3 separate regions of the Homo sapiens genome follow, and all the other regions are linked to region 1. Evidence: promoter capture Hi-C in human tissues and cell types (Jung and others, 2019). All regions are on one chromosome and are shown on one strand. Each heading gives the region's core, a stretch centred on a gene start or on the middle of the fragment in contact. The rest is flanking DNA. Distances are from core to core; before and after follow the strand shown. Region 1 holds the start of FEM1A (fem-1 homolog A). Region 2 overlaps KDM4B (lysine demethylase 4B). Region 3 holds the start of PLIN5 (perilipin 5).

What was found. The method cuts DNA at HindIII sites, captures the fragments that hold promoters and counts their contacts. A contact is called where the count stands out against the background at its distance.
Region 2: a fragment that was not itself captured here is called in contact with the fragment with the promoter of FEM1A in region 1 in 1 of the 25 tissues and cell types used here (lymphoblastoid cells).
Region 3: a contact is called between the fragment with the promoter of PLIN5 here and the fragment with the promoter of FEM1A in region 1, in 4 of the 25 tissues and cell types used here (lymphoblastoid cells, mesenchymal stem cells, spleen and 1 more).

The regions. Positions count from the first base shown.
Region 1 is chr19:4,789,926-4,794,412 of GRCh38, reverse strand. It overlaps FEM1A (fem-1 homolog A), which reads right to left and starts at 2,679. Exons shown (of 1, transcript NM_018708.3): 1 at 1-2,679. The coding sequence starts at 2,558. The coding sequence ends at 549. It overlaps LOC124904620 (a long non-coding RNA gene), which reads left to right and starts at 3,121. Exons shown (of 2, transcript XR_007067103.1): 1 at 3,121-3,215. RefSeq lists enhancers at 1,055-1,711, 1,999-2,058, 1,712-2,368, 2,589-2,858, 2,369-3,026. The HindIII fragment of the contact is 32,697 bases long and covers 1-4,487 here.
Region 2 is chr19:5,137,000-5,141,486 of GRCh38, reverse strand. It overlaps KDM4B (lysine demethylase 4B), which reads right to left. Exons shown (of 23, transcript NM_015015.3): 16 at 4,149-4,225; 17 at 3,811-3,866; 18 at 3,417-3,525. Among named protein-coding and RNA genes, the nearest start is that of PTPRS-AS1, 39 kb to the left of the region's middle. RefSeq lists enhancers at 2,122-2,221, 3,244-3,743, 3,744-4,245. The HindIII fragment of the contact is 3,759 bases long and covers 658-4,416 here.
Region 3 is chr19:4,533,974-4,538,460 of GRCh38, reverse strand. It overlaps PLIN5 (perilipin 5), which reads left to right and starts at 3,237. Exons shown (of 8, transcript NM_001013706.3): 1 at 3,237-3,296; 2 at 4,366-4,446. The coding sequence starts at 4,387. LRG1 (leucine rich alpha-2-glycoprotein 1) reads left to right here. Exons shown (of 2, transcript NM_052972.3): 2 at 1-2,059. The coding sequence ends at 521. RefSeq lists an enhancer at 3,531-4,086. The HindIII fragment of the contact is 58,476 bases long and covers 1-4,487 here.

The DNA.
Region 1 (4,487 bases), core at 1,430-3,929:
TGCCAGGGACTACGGTGGCACGGGAGCAGGGCGCGATCATGCTGGAAGAAATGAGAGGTGGTCTCATTCCCTGAATCTCAAACTCTCATCTCAGGAGCCCCCAGTCCTAACACTGTATTCAGCGGCTGGAGTTATCTGGCCAGGTAAAGGGACGAGGGAAGGCAGACAGTCCTCAACTTCTTCCTGTGTTTCTAGCAGGGAAGGAACGCAATGGCTTCAGTCCCTCCGCCTCTAGGTAACAAGGCAAAGGCCTCCCTAACCCAGGCAGACAGGATGTGGGGAAGGTCTTGTGTCTTTTCCTAACTCAGAATGAGTGAGCGGGCTCCCGGAGAAAGACTGTCCTCTTAGCACATGACCCCGCAGGCTTCTAGCACCAAAGGCTCGCTAACACCTCCGACCCTGTCTGCAGGTAGAGGGGATGGGAGGCAGAACCCTTCTCCTGATTGGTGCCTGAAGGAGGCAAGAACGAGCATCTGCTATGCCGCAGCCGGATTTCCCCCATCTCAGCAGGAGAGGGGAGAGGTGAGGGTGCAGGCGTTCTGGGCAGGTCAGTGCAGTTCGATGAACGCCTCCAGATCTTCCGGGATGAAGCCCTTGTAAGGGATCTTGTTCTTATCCAGGGCCCGGGCCGCAAGGCACTGCAGGGTCACGTAGTTGAAGGGCTGCATGGTACCCCTGGCCAGCAGCTTCTCGTCCAGCAGCTCGTAGGCCGTCTTCTTGAAGGCATTGGTGGCGTCCATGTGGGCCCCTGCTTCGATCAGGGCATTCATGATGGCCGGGCAGTTGTTCTGGGCTGCTATGTGTAGCGGGGTGTTGTTGTCAAAATCCCTGCTGTCCGGGTCGGCCCCGCAGTCGAGCAGCACTTTGACCACGTGCAGGGAGGGGAATCTGCCCACGGGATAGCGGCCCACGTTTGTGGTGTCCTTGTCCACAGCCATGTGCAGAGGGGTGAAGCCGTTCTTGCCCCTGGGCGCGCACTTGAGCAGGCGGTAGACGGTCTGGTGCTTCAGGTGCTCCTGGCTGGGGGTGCACTCCACTTTCTCCAGCAGGTAGAGCAGGTGGAGGATGATGGCCAGCGCCTTGGTGAACTGGGCTGAGTCTCCGGGCTCCCTGGGCAGCTGCAGGGCCCGTTCCACTTCCCGGACCCCTTTGGTGAGAACCCCCATGAGGTCTGCAAAGCCGATCTGGGTGCCCAGGCTGCCTTTGGCGGCCCGGTCCTGAAGCACGTAGGAGAAGAGTTCCGCGAAGGAGAGGAAGCTGCTGGCGGTCATGGGGCTCAGAGGCTCCAGGTTGCTCTGTTGCATGTCCAGGGCGTACTTCCACAAGCGGATGCAGCGCTCGAAATTGCCCGAGTCGGCGTACACGGCACCCCTGTAACGGATGTAATAGGAAGTGTCCGGGTGCGAGGGACCGAGGATGCGCTCCCGGATCAACAGGGCCTGCATGCGCATCTCATCCGGGTCGGTGATCAGCGCCTCCAGCTCCTCGGTGGTGTTGACCTCCCTGGAATAGTCATAGGCCAGGACCAGCTGTGGGGGCTCCGGTTTGGGCAGGTACTCGCCCCCCTGGTGACGCAGCTCCATGGCCCGCCTCCAGTGTTTAAGGGCCCCAAGCAGATCTCGTTTCTTATCCACATACGTAGCTCCCAGCAATTCCAAGGCTTCCACGGCAGCTTCCCGGCTGGTGGGACAGCAGCTTTCGTAAGATTCCCCGTTCAGTGGTTCCTCTGGGGAGGAGCTGCAGCACGGAGCCCCCTGAGGCTGCGCACACCCCTGGCTGGTGGAGGGGTCTTCTTGGGGCAGCCCAGGCTGAGCCTCTCCCCCTGCGACCTGCTCCTGGCCGGGCTGCTCCTGGATGAGGTACTCCACGATGTTGGTGTGGCCCGTCACGCTGGCCGCGAGCAGCGGGGTCATGCCGTAGCCGTCACGTTCCATGCGGGCCTTGCACCCCAGCAGCAGCTGCAGGATCTCCAGGCTGCCGGACTCGGCGCAGTCATGCAGGGCCGTGTTGCCCTTGGCGCTGCGCCGGTTCACCTGGGCGCCCTGCTCCAGCAGGTAGCGGGCGATCTCACGGTGGCCCTTGTAGCACGAGATCATGAGGCACGTGTGGCCGTGCCGGTTGGCCACCTCCAGGTCGGCCTGGTGCTCGCCGACCAGGTAGCGCACCACCTCCAGGTGGCCGTCGAAGCAGGCGGCGCGGAGAGGCGTGGAGTTGGTGCGCGTGGTGCGGTTCACCGAGGCCCCGCGGCGCAGCAGGCTCCGCACCACGTCCAGGTGGCCGGCTGCGGAGGCGGCCCACAGCGGCGGCGCGCCCTCGATGGTCTCGCCATCGAAGTGCACCGAGCCACCGGCCTCCACGCTCGCGCCGCACCGGTCCACCAGGTACTCCACCACGTCCAGGTGGCCGTAGCGGGCGGCGATGAGTAGCGGCGTTCCCCCGCCGGCCACCTCGCCCGTCAGCTCGTCCAGTTCCTCCCGGCTCCGGCCGCTGAGCAGCTTCTGGAGCAGCTGCAGCTTGCCATCACGGGCGGCGTTGTACACGGCGGTGCGGAGGTCCATGGTTCGGGCCTCCGCCAGGCCATGGGCCGGCCGCCGGGGGACGGGGAGACGGAGGATCAGAGCCCGGACGGGCGGGAGGCAACCTTCACCGTCCCCCTCGCCGCCATCTTAGGGTCTCCTCGGGCGGAACAAAATGGCTGCCGCGACCCGACGGATGGCAGCACGCCGGGAAATGGAGTCCTTTGCGCGGGCCCACTCCATAGAACAGAAAAGGAATCTTGGGGGCTCAAGACTACACTTCCCCAAAGGCCACAGGACAGCCCCTGAGAGCTGTGAGCGCGCGGCATGGTGGGAATTGGCGTTCCAGTCGCAGCGCATGGCATCGGAAGCTAGCAATTTGAGGACTACAATTCCCGTCATGCAGCGTCACACGACCTAGCTTGTGGGAACCGGCGAAATTTGGTGACGTACTTCCCGTGGCTATCTCTGCGTCAGAGCGTATAGAAAAAGCAGGCGCGATACCCTTAAGGACTACATTTCCCAAAAGGGATCACGAGCGACTCTGAGCCAATCAGGACCGAGACCGAAGGCTAAAAGCGACTAGAGGGGACGCGTCTGTTTTGGGCTTGGAGCACGGGCAAGCGGCCCACCGGCAGGGGGCGCCCGGAGGAGGCCGAAAAGCTGGACGGGGCGAAAACGTTTTGAGCTGGGAGAACGGTAAAAAATGACGCGCTCACTTCTTATTCTCACATTCATATATTCATTTATTCATTTACATACATTTATGTATATTCTAGTATGTGTCAGAATTTCCTTCTTTTATTTACGTATTTATTTTTATTTATTTCTTTCAATAACTTTGTGGGGTTTTTTGGTTTTGGTTTTTGTTTTTGAGACAGCGTCTCGCTCTTGTTGCCTAGGCTGGAGGGCAATGCCGCAATCTCGGCTCACTGCAACCTCTGCCTCCCGGGTTCAAGTGATTCTCGTGCCTCAGCCTCCCGAGTAGCTGGGACTACAGACATCCACCACCACGCCCGGCTAATTTTTGTATTTTTGGTAGAGACGGGTTTCGCCATGTTGGCCAGGATGGTCTCGAACTCCTGACCTTGGGAGATCCGCCCGCCTCAGCCTCCCAAAGTGCTAGAATTACAGGCGTGAGCCACTATGCCCGGCCTGACGTGCTGACTTCAATTCCTTTGGATAAAGACCCAGAAGTGGGATTCCTGGATCACCTGGTAGTTTTATTTTTAAATTTTTCTTTGGAACTTCCATACCATTTTCTATAATGGCTATACTAATTAAAATTACCATCAGTAGTGTATAAGTGTTCTCTTCAAATCCTTGCCAACGTTTGTTACCTTTCGTCTTTTTGATGATAGCTATTCTAGCAGTTGTAAGGTGATCCATTCCCTGGCATTTTTTGACAACAATGAATTATATTATGAAAAAGAAATCTTTGGTGACCCGAATTCTTTATTTTTAAAGTTTATTCGAGGTGTAATATATATACAATAAAATGCATTTTTAATAAAGAGGACAGGTTTGGCCGGGCAAGGTGACTCACACCTGTAATCTCAGCACTTTGGGAGGCTGAGGTGGGAGGATTGCTTGAACCCAGGAATTCGAGACCAGCCTGGGAAACATAGCACATCTCTACAAAAATAGAAAAATTAGCCGGGCGTGGTAGCGTGCACCTGTTGTCTCAGCTACTCGGGAGGCTGAAGTGGGAGGATCGCTTGAACCTAGGAGGTCAAGGCTGCAGTGAGCCGTGATTGCACCATTGTACTTCAGCCTGGGTGACAGAGGGAGACCCTGTCTCTAAGATAAATAAATAAAAATAAATAAAGAGAACAGGTGTGACAAACATGCAGCTATGTAGCCAGTATCACAACCAAGATGTTCAACAGCGTCTTCATTCAGAATTGTTATCTCATGCCGGCCGGGCGCGGTGTCTCACGCCTGTAATCCCAGCACTTTGGGAGGTCGAGA
Region 2 (4,487 bases), core at 1,288-3,787, 350 kb before region 1:
TAATTCATCGTTACAAGCACCGGTAATGAAGAGGCTGCGTTCTGGAAATGTCAGATGATCCATAAGGCGTCGGGCAGGAGGACTTATCACTGCACCACGCATCGCACCATCACTCCACCTGAATCATGAGGCCTTTTACGCCCACGTTTGTGGACTGAGTCACTGGTGCCTCGGAAGCATCACCCGCGGGCTGCCGGCTTCCTAATCGCCTGGCCGTGCCCGGCCAGGCCGGCGTGACCCACTGCACACTCCACTCCACGAACAAGGAAAGAGGGCTCCCCTTCCAGATGAGCCTCTGTGACTGCCTGCACAGCCCTGCCCAGGTGGCCCAGCACCTGTGGGCTCCAAGCATGGCATCCAAGCCCGCCGGGCTCGTGGGCACCTCGCACCAGTGCATGGGAGCCCGGGCTTTGTGGCCGGCATCAGTCCCACCCTTGTGGTCTCCCCAGCAGACCCACCCTGCCAGACTGATCTGTCTGCTTCCAGCCCCACCTCCACGCAAGCCTGAATGTCAACACCAGGCACTGTGTCCGCGGCTGGGAAGATAAACCAGGCAGGAAAAGCAGGCAGGACGCTGCTGGGTGCTACTGGCTGCGGGCCCAGCCTCCAGGGGCCCACGAGACACGTGTGCAGAGGCCGGAGTGCACAGGGACAAATGCGTCCTCCCCATCAGCGCTGCCACATGCACAGCCCTTAGTGGGGACGCGGCCCCAGCAACATCTGCATTTTGCTCTCCTCATCTTTTTTTTTTTGAGACAGAGTCTTACTCTGTCGCCCAGGCTGGAGTGCAGTGGCGCAATCTCAGCTCACTGCAACCTCCGCCGCCCAGGTTCAAGCAATTCTCCCGCCTTAGTCTCCCGAGTAGCTGGGATCACAGGCACGTCCCGCCATGCAGAGCTAAGTTTTGCATTTTCAGTAGAGACGGGGTTTCATATGTTGGCCAGGCTGGTCTCGAACTCCTGACCTCAGGAGATCGACCCGCCTCGGCCTCCCAAAGTGCTGGGATTACAGGCATGAGCCACCAGGCCTGGCCTCCTCATCTTCTTTCTGGGCCAGGTCCCAAGGCTCTGCAGGAAGCTGATTTAAAGGGCCAGCTGAGTGTCATTTTCCAGCAGGCGTGGACAGCCCCAAGTGCCTTGTGCGCAGGTGGGCTACAGGGTGTGCAGCAGACAGCCCTGCAGGGCTGCAGCCCAGGCCATGATCGGCCAAGCCCCTCCAGGCCCCAGGCTCCTCACCTGCAGAACAGACAGTGCAGGATGACCCCACAGGCTCTCACTGTGTGGATCAAATGCAGTAGGTGACACTGGGGGCCTGGGGGAGCGAGGCTGCAGATTTGACAAGCCCTGAGCAGCTGCTAGTGCTCAGACAGGGTGGTCCATGCTTTAGGGAGTGGGCCCAGCTCACACCACTGCAACCCTGCATGGCGGGGACTGTGGCAACCCCACAGCACAGAAGGGACGGCCGAGGCACAGAGAGGTCGAGGAATCTGTCCCAAGTGCACAGCCAGCTGGTGGCCAGCACTGACCACTCCTGACTGCCCTGTGGCTCCAAGGGGTTCCCCAAAGGGGGGCCATCATTGCTGAGAGCAGGAGGAAGCTTCACAAGCCCCCACGATGAGGCCCCGCTACGCCCAAGGTGGCTGCGCGCATCTACGGGGGGCCTCAATGTGCACCAAGAGTGGAGCAGCAGAGATCCTCCAACTCAACCACAAAAGGCCAAGCAACCCAGGCACGGAATGGGCGAAGGAGCAGAACAGACGTTTCTCCAAAGACGGCATGCAGATGGCCAACAGGACTGTGCAAAGATGCCCAGCGTCACTGACCGCCAGGAGAACACAAATCAAACCATAGCGAGACCACCTCGCACCTGCTAGGGCGGCTGCTACAAAAAAGTCAAAGGTAGGTGTGAGTGAGGACGAGGGGAAGGGGAAAGCCCTGCACCCGGGGGGTGCGGATGGGAGTCCGTCCAGCCGCAAGGGAGAGCAGTTTCCTCCAGTGCTAAAAACAGAGCTGCCCGACGGTCCAGCAAGCCCACTGCTGGGTCTGTATCCACAGGAAATGACATCAGAATCTCCAAACCACAACCACACTCCCACATCCGCTGCGGCGCAACCCACAACAGCCTGAAGGCAGAGACATCGGCGGGTGCCCGGATCAACACAACGTCGTCCATCCACATGGTGGCACATCACTGAGCCAGGAAAAGAAGGAACTCCTGCCATATTTGGGTTGAATGAATGTGGATGAACCTTGAGGAAACTATGCCAAATGAAAGACACCACTCGCGCCTGTAATCCCAGCTACCCAGGAGGCCAAGGCAGGAAGATCTCAAGGCCAGGAGTTCCAAACCAGCCTGGGCAACATAGTGAGACCCCATCTTTTAAAAAAAAATTGGGAGTTAACCTAACTTTTTGGCACGTGCTTGTGGTCCCAGCTACTCAGGAGGCTGAGGCGGGATGATCGCTTGAGCCCAGGAGTTTGAGGCTGCAGAGAGCTGTGATCACACCACTGCACTCCAGCCTGGGTAACAGAGTGAGAGACCCTGTCTCTTAAGAAAGAAGCCGGTCGCAGAAGAATAAAGACTGTACAATCCCACTCACGTGGGGTCTATAACACAGGCAAACACACAGAAGCAGAGTGCTGGGTGCTGGGGTGGGCGGAGGGAGCTGCTGCTTAGCACGTGTGAAGTGTCAGTTATACAGGACGGGTGAGCGGGCCGCAGAGCCCTGCTGCCCACCACTGGGCCCGTGGTGAATGCTGTACTGAACCTCAGATGCTTCTTAAGAGGGCAGATCTCACGCTAAGCATTGTTACAATTGTTTGTTTTTTTTTGAGACAGTGCCTGGCTCTGTTGTCTAGGCTGCAGTGTAATGGTGCCATCACAGCTCACTGCAGCCTGGGTATCCCGGGCTCAGGCGATCCTCCCACCTCAGCCTCCCGAGTAGCTGGGACCACAGGTGTGTGCCACCACGCCCAGCTAGTGTTTTTTATTTTTTTTATAGAGATGGGGTCTCATCGTGTTGCCCAGGCTTGTTATAATTATTAGAAAAACAGCAAAGATCAGACAGCCCGGTTGTGTCGGGGCACGTGCGGTGCCTCTGCTTTTGTGGGAAGGTGGAAACTGCATGGGGTGCTCGATTCTGCAGAGGATGCCCCCAAGGCCACACCTGACGGGGCCTGCTTATCTCTGCCACCCTTGATGCCTTCTGATTTTTGTACCTTGCACCTCGGGGAAGGATTCAAAAAATAACACACCTGCTGAAGTCGGGATCACTGGCTTCCTGAAAGCTGCCCACCACCCCCATGGAGACGCAGAGCTTGGAGGAAAGACCGCTTCAGATCGCGCAGGTGGGGAGCCGAGCATGGCCGGCAGCCCTAGAGGCACGGGCAGGGTGGGCCTCGACCGCAAGGACCTACCAGCTTCCACCGCTGCTCGGGGATGGCGCTGATGTCCACAGGGTGGCGCTCAATCACGTTCAGGAAGCGCGCCTCGGGGACTGCGATGGCACAGATCACGTGGATCCACCTGGGAGGGCAGGTGCAGCGGGGTCAGGTGCGCCTCTGAGGACCTGGGCTGGTCACAGAGGGGCTGGGCGTGATGTGGCTGTCGGCTGGGTCAGGGCCTGGGGAACTTCAGGAAGGTCGGTGCAGGCGTATGCTCCTCCTCAGCCCTGGCCACCCCATCCATGACACAGGGCGGTTATGTGGAGGTGATGGTCAACCCCTAGGCACTGGGGTCACACCCTGCAGAGCCTCAGCCCAGGGCAGGCTCCCCTCCGGCCCTCCAGCCCCAACGCGCGGTGCCACCCACCTCCTATCGGTGGTCATCTGCAGCGCACCTCCTCGCAGGTTGCACAGGCAGCACTCCTGTGGAGACCAGACAGCCCTGGATGAGCAGGGCTCGGAGCAGGCTCCCCACACACTGCTTGGGGCCTGATCTGCCAACCGTCCCCAGCCCACGGCCCTTATATTTCAACCTAGCAGCCACCAAAGTGACGGGTGGGAATCCCTTGGGTTCCACCCCCTCAGGGCAGAGGTGAAGGAACCCAGGCCCACGGAGGGGAGACTACGCCCCAAAGTCACCCCACTGGAGTGGGGCCGGGGCCCAGGCCTCTCAGAGCACCACCCCCGCTGCGGGGAGCGAGTTACCGCAGTCCAGGCGTGGGCCGCGCACCGGGAACACGTCCAGCCTTCATTGACCAGCTCGGGACGGATGCCATAGCAACCTGGAAGACAGCGGGGGCTGGCTGAGATCTGGGGGGCAGGTGAGACTTGGGGAGCCGAGTGAAACTCAGGGGGAGGGGCCGGGTAACTTGGGGGCCAGTGTCCGTATGTGGAGTGACGAGGCCTCCGCACGCAGCTGCAGCATTCAGGGTGCGTGCTGTTCCCACCCTCTGAGCTTCAATCCAGGCCACTGCATGTGGAGCGAGAGAAAGGTCTGGAAGCTACTTGTGTGGAAAGAGGACGCAGGAGGGGAAGCAGGGACCC
Region 3 (4,487 bases), core at 1,988-4,487, 260 kb after region 1:
GCCTCCGGAAACTGCCCCCCGGGCTGCTGGCCAACTTCACCCTCCTGCGCACCCTTGACCTTGGGGAGAACCAGTTGGAGACCTTGCCACCTGACCTCCTGAGGGGTCCGCTGCAATTAGAACGGCTACATCTAGAAGGCAACAAATTGCAAGTACTGGGAAAAGATCTCCTCTTGCCGCAGCCGGACCTGCGCTACCTCTTCCTGAACGGCAACAAGCTGGCCAGGGTGGCAGCCGGTGCCTTCCAGGGCCTGCGGCAGCTGGACATGCTGGACCTCTCCAATAACTCACTGGCCAGCGTGCCCGAGGGGCTCTGGGCATCCCTAGGGCAGCCAAACTGGGACATGCGGGATGGCTTCGACATCTCCGGCAACCCCTGGATCTGTGACCAGAACCTGAGCGACCTCTATCGTTGGCTTCAGGCCCAAAAAGACAAGATGTTTTCCCAGAATGACACGCGCTGTGCTGGGCCTGAAGCCGTGAAGGGCCAGACGCTCCTGGCAGTGGCCAAGTCCCAGTGAGACCAGGGGCTTGGGTTGAGGGTGGGGGGTCTGGTAGAACACTGCAACCCGCTTAACAAATAATCCTGCCTTTGGCCGGGTGCGGGGGCTCACGCCTGTAATCCCAGCACTTTGGGAGGCCCAGGTGGGCGGATCACGAGGTCAGGAGATCGAGACCATCTTGGCTAACATGGTGAAACCCTGTCTCTACTAAAAATATAAAAAATTAGCCAGGCGTGGTGGTGGGCACCTGTAGTCCCAGCAACTCGGGAGGCTGAGGCAGGAGAATGGCGTGAACTTGGGAGGCGGAGCTTGCGGTGAGCCAAGATCGTGCCACTGCACTCTAGCCTGGGCGACAGAGCAAGACTGTCTCAAAAAAATTAAAATTAAAATTAAAAACAAATAATCCTGCCTTTTACAGGTGAAACTCGGGGCTGTCCATAGCGGCTGGGACCCCGTTTCATCCATCCATGCTTCCTAGAACACACGATGGGCTTTCCTTACCCATGCCCAAGGTGTGCCCTCCGTCTGGAATGCCGTTCCCTGTTTCCCAGATCTCTTGAACTCTGGGTTCTCCCAGCCCCTTGTCCTTCCTTCCAGCTGAGCCCTGGCCACACTGGGGCTGCCTTTCTCTGACTCTGTCTTCCCCAAGTCAGGGGGCTCTCTGAGTGCAGGGTCTGATGCTGAGTCCCACTTAGCTTGGGGTCAGAACCAAGGGGTTTAATAAATAACCCTTGAAAACTGGATCGGATGAATTGGCTTTCATTGTGTTCCTAGCATCTTCTCAAATCAACTTCCCAGGACTCCAGGGTGAAGGAGGAAAAGAGGCATGGCCCAGGCCCTGGGGTGTGGGATATGGTCTCCCTAGGGGATGACAGTTGGGATCAATGGCCTGTGACTTCTCCTCTCCCTTCCCCCATCCTGGGACCTAACTGGAAATAAAACCTTGACTGTTGCCCGGGTGTCATTTTACCAGTGGATTTCTGCCAGGGCTTGTGTCCTAGGAGAAGGTTTAAGTTAAACCAGATTGCCCAGGTCTCCAAACGATTTGTCATGCTGACCTGAGATCATCGAAGGGGGCACCTGCCCCCGGGCAAGGTTGCAGGGGCAGGATGGGGCTGAAGGGATGAGCAGGGTCCCGGGCCCACCTGCTGATACAGCATTGGCCATGTGGGGGCTGCAATCGGATTTGGAAGACCCTGGGGCTTGGGGGCATGTCCAGTTTTCCCAGCTCCCTAAAAAATGACCATGCAGCCTGGCGCCGTGGCTCATGCCTGTAATCCAAACACTTTGGGAGGCTGAGGCAGGCAGATCACCGGAGGTCAGGAGTTCGAGACCAGACTGGCCAACATGGCAAAACCCTGTCTCTACTAAAAATACAAAAATTAGCCAGGCACAGTGGCACGTGCCTGTAATACCAGCTACTTGGGAGGGTCAGGCAGGAGAATCACTTGAACCTGGGAGGCGGAGGTTGCAGTGAGCCAAGATCACGCCACTGCACTCCAGGCTGGGCGACAGAGTGAAACTGTGTCTCAAAAATAAAAATAAAAATAAAAAGACCATGCCTACATCTGTGGTCATTCCAGGCAAGGCAATGAAAAGGCAGGGTTCTGAGGTCCAGCAGGGCTGGGTTTGAATAGGATCCCTGGCCGGGCACGGTGGCTCATGCCTGTAATCCTAGTACTTTGGGAGGCCAAGGCAGGCAAATCACGAGGTCAGGAGTCCAAGACCAGCCTGACGAATATGGTGACACCCCGTCTCTACTAAAAATACAAAAATTAGCTAGGTGTGGTGGCAGGCGCCTGTAATCCCAGCTACTCCGGAGGCCGAGGCAGGAGAATCACTTGAACCCAGGGGGCGGAGGTTGCAGTGTGTCAAGATCGCGCCACTGCACTCCAGCCTGGGCGACAGAGTCAGACTCTGTCTCAAAAAAAAAAAAAGAAAAAAAAGGAATAGGATCCCTCACTTGCTGTGGTATGCGGGGCAAGTGTTTTATGATCTCTGAGCCTCAGCTTGCTCATCTGTGAAATGGGGATCCTAGGGAAAGGGAAGGCCTGGCTTCTGGCTTAGTTAAGGGGCAGATTAAGAAATAAAAAGAGGCTGGGTGCAATGGCTCACACCTGTAATCCCAGCAATTTGGAAGGCTGAGGTGGAAGGATCACTTGGGGCTCAGGGGTTGAAGACAAGCCTGGTCAACACAGGGACATCTCGTCTCTACAAAAAGTTTAAAAAGTTAGCTGGGGGTGGTGGTGTGTGCCTGTGGTCCCAGCTACTTAGGAGACTGAGGCGGGAGGATCACCTCAGCCTGGGAGGGCAAGGCTGCAGTGAGCTATGATCACACCACTGCACTCTAGCCCTGGGCAACCGAGCAAGACCCAGTCTCAAAAATCGATAAATAATAATAATTAATAAGAAAAGTCATCAGCGAGTTGGCCAAGGTCACTCAGCAGGGCTATGGGGGCTGTGATCGCATGGACTGTCTCTATGGCAACAGCAGTGAGGATGACAGGTGGCCAAACTTGGTCCGGGAACGTATAATAGCTCAATCTTTTGAATCTAGCGCTCCCGAATTACTATGGCAACCGTAGGGCACTGGGCCAGCTCAAGGAGAGGGCGAGGGAAGCCTGGAGCCACGCCCCCTGGGCACGCCCCCGCACGGCCTCTCCCCATTGGTCAGTTCCGGAGGCCCCCACTGCGCGAGCAGCTATAAGAAGGGCGGGCGGGACCGGCGGGGGTGTGGAGACTCGAGCCTGGGGTCGGCGGAGACAGCTGGTGTCTGAAGCCGCTCGCGCCCAGGTGAGTGCCCTGAGGGCGGCGTCCGGGAGCGCCCCCCCGGGCTTAGGAGAGGAGCTCCAGATAGGGTGGTTGGGCGAAGGTCCGGCGGCGTGGGACGGGTATGACCGGCCAGAGCAGGTGGCTGGGACCCTTGGCCCGGTTGGCCCCAGCTCAGGACCCAGTTGGGCGAGGACCAGGCCTCAGAGGACGCGGGGTGGCAACCGGAGGGATCGCAGGCGGCAGGTCTGAGGCCCGAGGTCGAGCTCCCCCCCTGTAACTCTAGCTGGCTGCGTGACCTTGGGACCAGCATGGACCTGCTGCGTACCTCAGTTGCCCTGTCTGTCAAATGAGCTGTGAGTGGACTGGGACCCAGCAGCTACCACCTCCAGCCGTCTAGGGTGCTTGGGCAGTTCTGGGCCCAGGCAGGGGCCGCAGGGGTAGCAGGGACCTCCCACATCTTACAAAACAGGAAGCAGCCCAGAGAGGTGAAGGTGCTTGCCAAAAATCACACAGCTGGCCAGGTGCAGTGTCTCATGCCTGTAATCCCAGCACTTTGGGAGGCCGAGGTGGGCAGATCACTTGAGCCCAGGAGTTTGAGACCAGCCTGGGCAACATGGCGAAACCCGGTTTCTACTAAAAATACAAAAATTAGCCGAGCATGGTGGCACGTGGGTAATCCCAGCTAACTGGGAGGCTGAAGCAGGAGAATCACTTGAACCTGGGAGGCGGAAATTGCAGTGAGCTGGGATGGCGCCACTGCTCTCCAGCCTGGGCGAGAGAGATTCTGTCTTTAAAAAAATAATAAAAATAACACCGCAATTAATGGTAGCATTTGAACCCAGGTCTTTCTCACCTCAGAGACCATGCTTCGAGTCACTCCGGCAACCCTACCTTGCCAGAGGCTCATTATTGGACACCCTCTGTGTACAGAGCTCTGGACATGCATTGTCTGAGCTCCACAGAATGCCCCATTATGCAGATGAAGAAACTGAGGCCCCAAGAGGTTTGAGAGTTGCTCAAGTCACAGAGCCCAATTTGACAGGATCTGATGCCTGGGCAGGTGCTCCCCTTACTCAATCCTGCCCCGCAGGGTGACCCTGTTTGCAGCACGATGTCTGAAGAAGAGGCGGCTCAGATCCCCAGATCCAGTGTGTGGGAGCAGGACCAGCAGGTGAGGGCTGCCCCTCCCATGGAGCAGGGACAGAAGGTATT